Regions from separate parts of the Homo sapiens genome. Here regions 1 and 2 are each linked to region 3. Evidence: promoter capture Hi-C in 16 types of primary human blood cells and fetal thymus (Javierre and others, 2016). All regions are on one chromosome and are shown on one strand. Each heading gives the region's core, a stretch centred on a gene start or on the middle of the fragment in contact. The rest is flanking DNA. Distances are from core to core; before and after follow the strand shown. Region 1 has its middle 25 kb from the start of RAB11FIP5. Region 2 has its middle 4.3 kb from the start of RAB11FIP5. Region 3 holds the start of SPR (sepiapterin reductase).

Region 1 (4,268 bases), core at 775-3,274, 250 kb before region 3:
AAAAAAAAAAAAAAAATAGAAAACAGAAAAATGATAGAGAAAAATCAATAAAACAAAAGGTCTGTTTTTTGAAAAGGTTAACAAAATTGAGAAATTTTTAGCTAGACTGACCAAGAGAAAGAGAAAACATAAATTACAAAATCACTACTGACCACACAGAAACAAAAATAATTACAAGGAAATATTACAAATTGAACAATTTGGATGAAATGGACAAATTCCCAGAAAGATACAGATTATTAAAACTGACTCAAGAAGAAATAAAGTCTGAATAGGCCTATAGCAAGTAAATAATGGGATTAGTACTTAAAATCTCCCCACAAAGAAAAACCCAGTCACAGAACACTTTACTAGTGAATTCTATCAAATAATTTAAAAACACATAATACCAATCTTTCACAAATTATTTCAGAAAATAGGGGAAGAAAGTACACTTCCGAACTCATTCTGTGAGGCCAGTATTACCCTGATTCAAGACAAAGATATCATATGAAAAGAAAGCTACAGACCAACATCCTTTTTGAACACAGATGTAAAAATCCTTAGCACAAAATTAGCAAATAAAACCCAGCAACACATACATAGAAGCGTATACCATGACCAAGTGGGCTTTATCCCAGGAAAGCAAGGTTGAGTTAACATCTGAAAACCAATTAAGATGAATCACTGTATTAATAAAATAAAGGACAAAATCATATGATCTCAACAGATGCAGAAAAAACATTTGACAAAATCCAACATCCATTGATGGTTAAAAAAAAACCCTTGAACTTGGAATAAAAGGGAGCTCTCTTAACTTGATAAAGCATATCTAACTGAAACCTACCATCAACATTACATATAATGATGCAAGACTGAATGTTTCTCCTTGAGATCAGGAACAAGGCAAGAATGTCAGCTCTTGCCACTTTCAATCAACATTGTCCTGGAGATTCAAGTCAGTGTGATAAGGCCAAAAAATAAGAATAAAGGCATCAACATTGGAAAAGAAGTAAAACTGTCTTTTTTTCCCACAGATGACGTGATCCTGTATATAGAAACAACAACAAACTACTGTTGTCGCCTGTAATCTCAGCACTTAGAGAGGCCAAGGCAGGAGGATTGCTTGAGCCAGCCTGGGCAACATAGCAAGACCCATCTCTAAAAACAAAACAAAACAGATAAACTATTATTGTTAAGATAGCAATATTGTAATATTGCCCAAATGGATCTGCAAATTTAATGCAATCCTGTGACATAACAAGAAATATATATTTGGTCTCTTCCCCGGGTTCCTAGCACAGAGCTGCTAAAAGTCTTGTGATTCCCCTGAGTGATAGGGGTGAGAGGAACACCTTTGGTTATTCATAATAAGCCCCTTTCAACCATACCTGGGTTTATGCTAATGAGGTGACTCTTGGAGGATGGGGGCTGGTTGACAGAGGAACCAACCTTGTAATTAGAGGGTTGGAATTTTCAGCCCCATCTCTTTGACCTCTGGGGAGGGGAGAAGGGCTGAAGATTAATGTCAGTCACAGAAGGTCAATGATTTAATAAATCATGCCTACATAATGGGACTTCCATAAAAACCCTAAATGACAGGGTTTGGAGATCTTCCAGGTTGGTGAACACATTAAGGTGCTGGGAGGGTGCGAGGCCTGAAAGGCTATGGAAGCTCTGTGCCCCTCCCTCCTCATACCCTGTCTCTTCCATTTGGCTGTTCCTGAGTTGTATCCTTTATAATAAACCGTACATGTAAGTGCTTCCCTGAGTTCTGCGAGCCATTACAGCAGATTATTGAATCTGAATAGGTGGTTGTAGGAAACCCTCACTTGTAGCTAAGTCACACAGAAGTGTGGGTAACCTGGGGACCCATTACTTGAGATTGGCATTTGAAGTCAGGGGCAGTATTGTGGGACTGAGCCCTTAAGCTTTGGGGTCTCACACTAACTCCAGGTAGCTACTGTCAGAGTTGAATTGAGTCATTGGACACCCAGTTGATGTTTGCAGAGAACTGAAGAATTGCTTGATGTGCGGGGAAAAAAATCCCAGACATTTGGTTTCGGAAGTGTTTTTGAGTATAGAAAACCTGTTTGTTTTCCCCTTTCAATACCTATCAAAATCTTGGTTGCCATTTTTGCTGAAATTGACAAGCTTATTCTAAAATTAATATGGAAATGCAAAGGATCTGGAATAGTGAAAATGATCTTGGAAAATAACAAAACTGGAGGACTCACACTTTCTGATTTCAAAACTTACTACAAAGCTACAGTAATCAAAACAATGTGGTATTGGCATAAGGATAGACATACAGGCCAATGGACTAGAATTTAGAGCTCAGACCTCACATGTAAGGTCTACTTATTTTTGGCCAAGGCAATTCAGTGGGAAAAGATATTTAATACAGTGTTGGTAAGGATGTGGAGAAACCAGATACCTCATACATTTCTGATGAGAATGTAAAATGGGCTAGGCACAGTGGCTTATGCTTGTAATCCCAGCACTTTGGGAGGCTGAGGTGGGTGGATCACTTGAGGTCAGGAGTTTGAGACCAGCCTGGCCCACATGGTGAAACCATGTCTCTACTAAAAATACAAAAAAATTAGCCGGGTGTGGGGGCGCATGATAGTCTCAGATATTCGGGAGGTTGAGGCAGGAGAATCAGTTGAGCCCAGGTGGCAGAGGTTGCAGTGAGCTGAAATTGTGTCACTGCACTTCAGCCTGGGCGACAGAGGGAGACCCTGTCTCAAAAAAAAAAAAAAAAAAAAAAAAAGAAAAAAGGAAAAGAAAAAGAGAATGTAAAATGTTACAGCCACTTCGAAGAACAGTTTGGCAGTTTCTTAAAAAGTTAAAACGAAAAACTTACCATTCCTAGGTATCTACCCAAAAGAAATGAAAACATATGTCCACAAAGACTTGTACATGAATATTCAGAGCAGCACTATTCATAATAACCCCAAACAGGAAACAGTCCAAATATCCATAAACAGGTTAATGGATCAACAAAATGTGGTAATGTGGTATATTCACACGACAGAACACAGCAATGAAAAGGAACTGCTTTTTTTTTTTTTTTTTGAGATGGAGTCTTGCTCTGTCGCCAGGCTGGAGTGCAGTGGCGCGATCTTGGCTCACTGCAACCTCTGCCTCCCGGATTCAAGCAATTCTACTGCCTCAGCCTCCTGAGTGGCTGGGATTACAGGCGCCCGCCACCACGCCCGGCTAATTTTTTTTTTTTTTTTGAGACAGAGTCTCGCTGTCACCCAGGCTGGAGTGTAGTGGCGCGACCTCGGCTCACTGCAAGCTCCGCCTCCCGGGTTCACGTCATTCTCCTGCCTCAGCCTCCCGAGTAGCTGGGACTACAGGCGCCCGCCGCCACGCCGGGCTAATTTTTTGTATTTTTAGTAGAGACGGGGTTTCACCGTGTTAGCCAGGATGGTCTCGATCTCCTGACCTCGTGATCTGCGTGCCTCGGCCTCCCAAAGTGCTGGGATTACAGGCGTGAGCCACCGCGCTCGGCCAAAAAGGAACTACTTTTTAGTAAAAAGGTCAGGCGTGGAAGCTCATGCGTATAATCCCGGCACTTTGGGATGCTGGGGTGGGAAGATCCCTTGAACCCAGGAGTTCAAGACCAACCTGGGCAACATAGAGAGACCCTATCTCTACAATAATAATAATTTAAAAAAGATGAAAAAGAAGGAACTACTAATATACACTGTGACACAGAAGAACCTCAAAAACATATTATACTAAGTGAAAGCCAGACATAAAGACTACATATTGTTGATCCCATTTACTTATATATATGTTTTGTTTGTTTATTTTGTTTATTTTATTTTACTTTTTTGAGACAGAGTCTCACTCTGTTGCCCCGGCTGGAGTGCAGTGGCGTGATCTCGGCTCAGTGCAACCTCTGCATTCCACATTCAAGCTATTCTCCTGCCTCAACCTCCCGAGTAGCTGGGATTACAGGCATGCGCCACCACACCCAGCTAATTTTTGTATTTTTTGTAGAGATGGGGCTTCGCCATGTTGGCCAGGCTGGTCTCAAACTCCTGACCTCAAGTGATCCGCCCACCTCAGCCTCCCAAAGTGCTGGGATTATAGTCGTGAGCCACCACGCCCGGCCATATTGTATGATCCATTTATATAAAGGGTACAGAAAAGACAAATCTATACAGAGAAAGTAGACCAGTGGCTGCCTGGGCTGGATCTGGTAGTAGGAACCAACTGCAGATAACCATGAGGGAACTTTTTGGGGTGATGAAAATATTCTAAATCTGGATTGT
Region 2 (4,444 bases), core at 18-2,517, 230 kb before region 3:
TTTTTTTTCTGACCTTCTCTCTATTATCACCCTGTTCTCCTACCACATTCCTCTTGCTGAGATAATGAAAATAATAATCAATAAATACGGAGGGAACTCAGAGACTGGTGCCGGTGCAGGTCCTTGGTATGCTGAGCGCCAGTCCCCTGGGCCCGCTTTTCTTTCTCTATACTTTGTGTCTTATTTCTTTTCTCAGTCTCTCGTCCCACCTGATGAGATATACCCACAGGTGTGGAGGGGCAGGCCACCCCTTCACTACAAATATATATATAAACTTATATGATAAACCCAATGGCTAAGGGATAGGGCTTTGCAATAAATATTGGGAAACTTGGATAGCTGTTGGGGGAAAGCAGGTTAGATATTTACCTGAAATCATTCATCAAAATGGTTGCTAGCAGGATTTAAAGAGAATAAAAGAACAAACAAAAATCCAAACAACTTAAAAACTTGAAAAAATCCAAATGAATATTGTTGGACCTGTAAGTTTGGAAGAACTCAAGCTTAAAACAATGGAAAGAATTCAAAGATTTGATTATCTAATTTTATTTATTTATTTAGACAGGGCCTGAGCTCTGTCACTCAGGCTGGAGTGTAGTGGTGTGATAATGGCTCACTGAAGCCAGGACGTCCCGGGCTCAAGCAATCCTCCTGCCTCAGACCTACTCCAACCCCCTCAGTGGTCAGGACTACAGGCGTGCATTAGCACACCTAGCTAATTTAAAAATAATTTTTAAAAAGAGACAGGGTCTTGCTACGTTGTCCAGGCTGGTCTAGAACTCCTGGGCTCACAAGTAATCTTCTTGCCTCGGCCTCCCAAAGTGCTAGGGTTACAGGCATAAGCCATTGCACTCAGCCTACCTAATGTCTTATATCGAAAACATATCCAGGCTGGGAGCAGTGGCTAAAACCTGTAATCCCAACACTTTGGTAGTCTGAGGGGGGTGGATCACCTGAGGTCAGGAGTTTGAGACCAGCCTAACCAACATGGCAAAACCCTGTTTCTACTAAAAATACAAAAATCAGCCGGATGTGGTGGTGCACACTATAGTCCTAGCTACTGGGGAGGTTGAGGCAGGAGAATCGCTTGAACCCGAGAGGTGAAGGTTGCAGTGAGCTGAGATTGTGCCACTGCACTCCAGTCTGGGTGTCAGAGCAAGGCTCTGTCTCAAAAAAAAAATTAAATTAAATTAAAAAAAGAAAACCTGCAGTAAATATGAACAACAAAGTGTTACTATTCTTTTTCTTTTTTTTTTTTTTTTTGAGATGGAGTCTCGCTGTCTCCCAGGCTGGAGTGCAGTGGCACGATCTTGGCTCACTGCAAGCTCCGCCTTCCGGGTTCACACCATTCTCCTGCCTCAGCCTCCTGAGTAGCTGGGACTACAGGCGCCCGCCACCGCGCCCGGCTAATTTTTTCGTATTTTTAGTAGAGACAGGGTTTCACCGTATTAGCCAGGATGGTCTCGATCTCCTGACCTTGTGATCCGCCCACCTACGGCCTCCCAATGTGCTGGGATTACAGGCATAAGCCACCGTGCCCGGCCTTCTTTTTCTTTTTCTTTTGAGACAGGGCCTCATTCTGATGCCCAGGCTGAGGTGCAGTGACATGATCACAGTTTGTTGCAACCTCGACTTCCCAAGCTCAGGTGATCCTCCCACCTCAGTAGGCATGTGCCACCACACCCAGCTAATTTTTGTATTTTTTTTTTTAGAGATAGGGTTTCACCATGTTGGCCAGGCTGATCTCAAACTCCTGGACTCAAGCAATCCTGCCTCCTCAGCCCCTTAAAGTGCTGGGATTACAGGCATGAGTCACTGTGCCTGGCCATGTTACTATTCTTAACATATAAAGCATTTGTATAAATAATAAGAAATTAAGGCTTCAAAGAAAAACAAGCATAGAAAATAGGCAATTCAGAAAATAGACAATTCATTAAAGAAGGAAATACAAATGACTAATAACTGAAAAGAAGTTCAATCTCTCTGGCAATCAAAGAAATGCAAATGAAACAACAAGGAGGCAGAAGCTTTTGCCTTCAGCAAAGAGTTCTAAGATGATAATTCATGCTCATTACTGCTTAGGGTGTATTGAGATAGCTCTCATACTAACCCTATGAGGTAATTTCTTATTAGCAGGCCCATTTTACAGAGGTGGAAACAGACTCAGTAGGGTTCAGTAATTTGCCCATGCTTATACAGTTAGTAAGTGGTGGCACCAGGGCTTAGACCTGGGCATGTGGTTCTGCTATAAAGAGGGCCTGGAAAATAGCTGCAGGAAGGTGAGGTGAAGAACAGAGGGAAATGTAGCTGGAAGAGCAGGACAAATACATGTGAAGTGTCTACATGGAAAAGCAAATGGGCTTAGTGGTACTGAAGAGGGGGCAATGAGTGGAAGCTACACATAGGTGGATGCTTTTCAAGCAAGAACTGTCTCCAATGGACTAGAGAGGCCCAGGAAGGCAGTGAGGACACCCAGCCCTGGGGAGGCAGAGGAAACTGATGCTTTTGGGGTCTTCTTGTCTAACTCTTATGCAGGCTGCTGCAGGGAGTGGGGGGGATCTCATCTTATAGAGGAGGAAACACACCTTTAGATGGCCAAGACCTCAGTATCTGGTGTTTCTGCTCTTTTCTCAACCACAGACAGCTAGCAGACCTGGCTTTTCCTTCTAGGGCCAGGCAACGTGGGGTGGGAGCCCTGGCTGGTTTCGTTCCCCTCCTATAGCCAGCCACAGTCCAGAGCCAGCAGGAAGCTTGAGCTTGCCAATCTGTGAGGGCCAAGGCAGGAGGAAAGAGAGCCAGAGGGCAGGTGAGGCAGAGGAGCCATCTGAGTGCTCTCCACCTTTTCCCCTTTCCTGGTGCTTTGCTCCTCCTTGGCGGAGGAGGAGGGAGGGAGGAGGTAGGAGCAGTAACGTTGGAGAACAGGCAAACAGATGAAACAGACCCGCTGAAGGAGTGACACATTTATGTTAGTTGAAGTTTAGTGATGATATCGTCACTTGCAAAGTCCTTGAAGAATTCACTCTTAAAGTGGGAGGTTCATCCTGACTCTTGTAACCTTGGTTGCCTCAATCTTCGTCTGTAAAATGGGTATGAGAACACTTCCTTCTTTATTGACTTTAAATGGATCTAGTGCTTGGCTGACCAACAAGCTGGTGTGAGAGCAGAGTACCACAGCCAGTAGAGCCACTCAGTCTCTACAATTTTCCGGTTGGAGACTTGGGGAAAATCACCCAAGCTCTTCCTGCTTCTGTTTCCTCATCAGTGAAACCAAGGGTAGCACTTGCTTTAAATGGTTATCTTCAGGGTTAAACATGACTATGTGTGTGTGTGTGTGTGTGTGTGTAAGTATTATATGTATATACTTTTTCTTTAGTATACAGACTTATAGCCAAGAGTGATAATATATATAAAGTAATGGTAGAACCAGGACTCCAAAGCCCACAGATTTAATAATTATACTTTAGATGTCTCAAAAACCATAATGTATATAAAACAAACACATACAGTATAAAGACTAGAAAGAAACACAACAAATTATTAACAGTGTTTATTTATGGATGGTTGCGTTATGATTTATTTCCATTTTTTCTTTTTTTGAGAGAGAGTCTCACTCTGTTGCACAGGCTGGAGTGCAGTGGTGCGATGTTGGCTAACTGCAACCTCTGTCTCCCAGGTTCAAGTGATTCTTGTGCCTCAGCCTCCTGAGTAGCTGGGATTACAGGTGTGCCCCACCATGCCCTGCTAATTTTCATAGTTTCAGAAGAGACGGGGTTTCACTATGTTGGTCAGGCAGGTCTGGAACTCCTGACCTCAAGTGATCCATCCGCCTCGGCCTCCCAAAGTGCTGGGATTACAGGCATGAGCCACCAGGCCTGGCCCCATTTTTTATTTTTTTGAGACAAAGTCTCATTCTGTCGCCCAGGCTGGAGTGTAGCAGCACAATCTTGGCTCACTGCAACCTCTGCCTCCCAGGTTCAAGTGATCCTTGTGCCTCAGCCTCCCAAGTAGCTGGGACTACAGGTGCCCACCACCACGCCAGGGGAATTTTTTGTCTTTGTAGTAGAGGTGGGGTTTCACCATGTTGCCCAGGCTGGTCTTGAACTCCTGGCTTCAAGTGATCCACCAGCCTGGGCCTCCTAAAGTGCTGGGATTACAGGTGTGAGCCACTCCGCCTGGCTTGAGGTAAGAATCATTATCCCATTATCCAAATGGAGAAATAAGGCCAAGAGAGGTTAGAGAGTTGGCTTAAACTTCAGGTTTCATAGCTACTAAGAGGCAGATGGCCAATATCTGTAGGCAGATCTGGCTGTCTCTAAAGCTAGGTGCTATCGTCAGGGTTGCTGGACCATGGGGCTGGTGCCTAGGACTTCCCCACTCCAGTCTTCTGATGGAAGAGTTAAGGTGGGAGGCTGTGAGGACTGGGCCTGTGCTGGGTGTGCTATCA
Region 3 (4,256 bases), core at 1,068-3,567:
GACCAAACGCAGCCATGTGGACTTCTGGAGTCTGCTCTGCTCCTGGTTGTAGCTTACATTTGGTCACTGTTGTTTGTGCGAATCCTTGGGCTGAATTCAGAGTGGATGATGAGTTGAATGTTGGTTGTGAGAATAATTGTGCATGTGTGTTGGGGGGCAGGGGTGGTAGGGGCTGGGGTACTGGAGAACATGAGGAAGAACTTGAAAGCAAGGTGGGATCCAGCCCTGCCACATCTGTGCTTTGTGCAGGCCATTCTACCTGTCTGCCCTGGGAGCCTGACCCTATTCCCCAGGGACACAGGCTACTGGATTTCTGCCCAAGTTGCTCAGGCTTTCCATGGCTGCTCTGTCACCACCTTCTGATTGCAGCAACCTCAAGCCTAAAAGAGACTCCTCACTATTAAGACAGGGGCGCTGTGGCATCAGAAACTAGACCCAGTATCACAAGACTCCCTGTCCTTTGGCGTTCATGAGAGCAAGGGATCTATTCTATTTATCCCAGAATCCTCAATAGTGTTCCAGCACAGTTCAGCCAGGGATGGTCAGCACTCAACAAAGTCTGTCTGCTCTCCATACAGCTAGCATGTCCTGCAGCTTGCCTTAGTGTAGTGCTTTGCTAGGTGTTAGGAACACACATCTGCATAGTGCAAAGGCTTTCCTGTCAAGGGAGGGAAGGAGGCAAGCAAACATATGCAGACAATACAGTGTGGTCAGTCCTATTTAACAATGAGGCAACACTTCACAGGTCAGGGTCATTTTCACATACAGTATCTCATTCAGTCTTCCCAAGTGCCCTGTGAGGCAGGGAGCGTCTTCCCCATTTCACATGAGGAAGGCCTGGAACTCAAACCCCAGTCTTCTCCCAAACTCCATCTAATACCTCAGACCTTCCTGCCCCACCCTCCAGTCCAGGAAACTCCTCACTCTCTACCAGTATCCCCGGCCCCTGCCACCTCTATTTCCCCTGGGTCTGTATTTCCCCTAAGGGGTGATGGGTCAAGATTCAAGGACAAAATCCTGTGGGTTGTTTCCTGGAGGGGGCGGACTAGGCCGCTTGCCCAGCCCCCAGAGGCGCACCAGTGGGTTCTGGAGGACAGGGACGGCAGGACTTCCCACCTACCTGGGGCATAGTTCAGCACCCTCACATTAGGTTCCTCCAGCGCCAGGACCTGGAACAGCATATCACGAGCAGCCTTTCCTGCACAGTACAGCGCCCAGCCTTTGAAAGGTTGCAGGGCACAGAGGGACGAGATGTTAACCACGGTTCTGTTGAGGCCAGGACTGTCCGGGAAGGCCTTCAGGACGCTGGAAGTCAGGCAGAGCATGGAGGTCAAGTTCAGTGCCCAGTAGTTGTTCACTTGAGTGGAGTCACTCAGGTCCACGAAGCCTTTGGACACATCCCCAAGAGAGCCTGAAAAACCAACCCTTAGGAGTAACTCAGTGCAGGCGGGGCTTTCTTCTTCCCCAGCCCTCCCAAGTTCCTCCAGATATCCTCTTCCCATGCAGACCTAGAGGAGGAAGCTGCCTAGCGCTTCTGAAGAGGCTTCTCTCTTCCCCAGCTCTGCGGAAAGACACAGCTGGGGAACCTAGCCATCCCAAGCTGCAGAATGAGAAGGCACCTGCCTTGCCGTGGGGCTGAAGGAAAGCTCTAGCGGTCCTTTGGAGAAGCAGAGAGTTTACTTGTTTGGAGACTCCAAGCCCTGACTCAGGCCTCCGCCAGAGGGCGCAGAGCAAGGGGCTCGGGAAAGTTCTACAGGCGCTTTGGAAAACCCGGCTGGCCAATTTTCCAGGAAGTGGGGGCAGACTGTTGTCCCGACGGCACCGAGTCTTCCTGTACACCTCGCCTCCACTTGCTACTCAAGCTGGAACAACTAGGGCTTTAGATTTCTAGGCGTCCTATCTGACCCCTAGGAGTAGCCCTTAAATTCCCCAGCGGTGGAGGAAGTGGGCGCTCACATGGGGAGTCCGCTCCAGCCCCGGGGTCTTACCCGCGTTGTTGATAAGCAGCAGTCGCTGCAGCCCCTTGGGCCGGGGGAGCTCGCGCAGGGCGCCGAGCAGCTGCTGCAAGCCGGCCTCGGCGCCCAGGTCGGCGGGCACCCGCACCACGCGCAGGCCAGACCGCTCGGCGCCCAGCTCGGCCTCCAGCTGGCGCAGTGCCTCGTCGTTGCGGGCGCTAAGGACAAGCACGGAGCCGGGCGACAGCAGCGAGGCCAGGAGCGGGGCCAGCGTCCGGCCGAAGCCGCGGGAGGCCCCGGTCAGCAAGCACACAGCACGCCCCAGCCCGCCCTCCATGCTCCTGTTCTCCGCCGGCGGCGCTGGCACCCGAGACCAGGCAGGAGGCGGTGCGGCCGCGGGGGGCGGGACCGCTACGGGTGTCGGCGGGGCCGCCCTGCCGGGGCGGGGCGGGAACCTCAGGCTTCGGGCCGCGAGCGCCCAGGGGTGCTGGTTCCCTTGGGATCTGGTTCCCTTGGTTGCTGGTGGCGGAAGTCAAACCGTGGCGGTAGCCCAGTCCGTGCCAAGTGGGACAACAGAGAGGGCCGGCAGGCGCGGCCCACACGGAAAGCCCTAGCCCGGTTCCCAGCGCTGCCGTGTTCTTCGCCCGCAAGCTCAGCCTCCGGCTGGGACGCATGCTCGAATTTCCTCCCAGTTCCAGCCCTAACTTTGCACTACTGACCTCTTCCAGGGCAGGCCCTGCACTGGGTGCTGGGCGTCCCTGGTCGTGGCCAGTGAACACCCTGAATGAAGCTTATGCCTGTTTAGGAATTGAAGTCTCTGCTTGTTTGGGAGCTCACCGCTCTCTGGATGACAGGAGCTTCCTCTGGGAGAACCACAGTGGCTCCAAATGATATTAAAACCTTTCCCTTTTACTAGGCCCTGAGCAGCTCCGTGATCCCACCAGTAACCCCTGCTTCTCTGAGATTTCTGACTCCTGTCCCTAAAAGTGTGTTCCCCAGGATTCTGCTCCTGCTCATGCTACAGTCTCCCTGGCAGCAATTCCATCCACTTTCAGCTTCAAGTTTGCGCAATCATCTGTCTGTACCTCCAGGCAGGTGCTTCAGAAAAATCCACATTTTTTTTTTTCTAGGAGAGGAGGAACGTGAGACAAGTTGGCATGCAGCTACATATATTAAAAAGGAATCTCTTCATGGTTTCCTTCTTAGTGGCCGAGTGGTATTCCATTGTGTATATACATATGTCCAAATATTGTGTGTCAGTTTTTAAAAAACGAATCTCTTTAGAGTTTAGCAAGGGCAGTAAGTAACCTCTGATAACTTAGCCCAATTCCCCACAGGGCTGATCCCTCCCCTGGGGCTAAACAGCAAAGTTACCGCCTTTCCACTATTATTGCCAACTCTAAGGAAGAAACAACTTGGAGGAAGGCTTTTTTCTTTTCTTTTTTCTTTTTTTTGACAGAGTCTCGCTCTGTGGCCCAAACTGAAGTGCAGAGGTGTGATCACAGTTTACTGCAGCCTTGAATTCTTGGGCTCAAGCAATCCTTCCACCTCAGGCTCCTGAGTAGCTAGGATTACAGGTGCGCACCACCACGCCTGGCTAATTGTTTTTTAAGCTTTTGGTATTTTAACGCTGATAAGACTCTGTATATGTGTATACCATTTGAAGTTGCCCTGCTTTTCACTTACCTATTCACACTGAAGATAAAGATCTCATTGGCCCAACAGCTTACTATTTAAAGAATTTTAATAGCTTCTCCCTGCTCTCCAGGCCTTAGAAGACAGGTTGATGAAAGCACGATCCCATCCATCCATTCATTTGACATTTGTTAAATTTCTACCATTTGCCAGATTTTTGAAGAAAAGGAGGGAACAATGAAGGGATGGCAAAAAATCAGACCTAGACTCTTCTGAACCTAGCTGCTTCTAGGAGGAACCACTTGGGAACAGCCCCTAAGGAGAACGTGGTTTTCCTATACTAGGAGAGGGTCTGGAAAATTCTTCTTTTCTGAGGAAGATGATTATCTGCTCTCGCTAATTTTTGTGTTTTTTTATAGAGATGGCTCTTGCTGTGTTGCCCAGTGTGGTCTTGAACTGGACTCAAGCAGTTCTCCCATCTCAGCCTCCCAAAGTGCAGGGATTATAGGTGTGAGCCACCCCACCTGGCCAACAGTAACTCTTTTAAAAAGATACAAATGCCTGAAAGGTAAGAAATGTGTAAAAATTGTGTTAAAAACATAAGCCTGATAAAGGACATGGGTAGGGGAATGGGTGAAATTTGAATAAGGTCTGTAGGTTAGTTAT

What was found. Contacts are between HindIII fragments. The CHiCAGO score rates a contact against its expected background, and 5 or more counts as called.
Region 1: a fragment that was not itself captured here is called in contact with the fragment with the promoter of SPR in region 3 in 3 of 17 cell types (fetal thymus, endothelial precursors and naive B cells); the score reaches 8.3 in fetal thymus.
Region 2: a fragment that was not itself captured here is called in contact with the fragment with the promoter of SPR in region 3 in 1 of 17 cell types (fetal thymus); the score reaches 6.4 in fetal thymus.

Annotation. Positions count from the first base shown.
Region 1 is chr2:73,136,252-73,140,519 of GRCh38, reverse strand. No RefSeq gene overlaps it. Among named protein-coding and RNA genes, the nearest start is that of RAB11FIP5, 25 kb to the right of the region's middle. The HindIII fragment of the contact is 223 bases long and covers 1,913-2,135 here.
Region 2 is chr2:73,114,996-73,119,439 of GRCh38, reverse strand. No RefSeq gene overlaps it. Among named protein-coding and RNA genes, the nearest start is that of RAB11FIP5, 4.3 kb to the right of the region's middle. The HindIII fragment of the contact is 1,524 bases long and covers 506-2,029 here.
Region 3 is chr2:72,885,469-72,889,724 of GRCh38, reverse strand. SPR (sepiapterin reductase) reads right to left here and starts at 2,317. Exons shown (of 3, transcript NM_003124.5): 1 at 1,989-2,317; 2 at 1,121-1,411. The coding sequence starts at 2,292. RefSeq lists silencers at 1,263-1,437, 2,076-2,465. The HindIII fragment of the contact is 9,789 bases long and covers 1-2,747 here.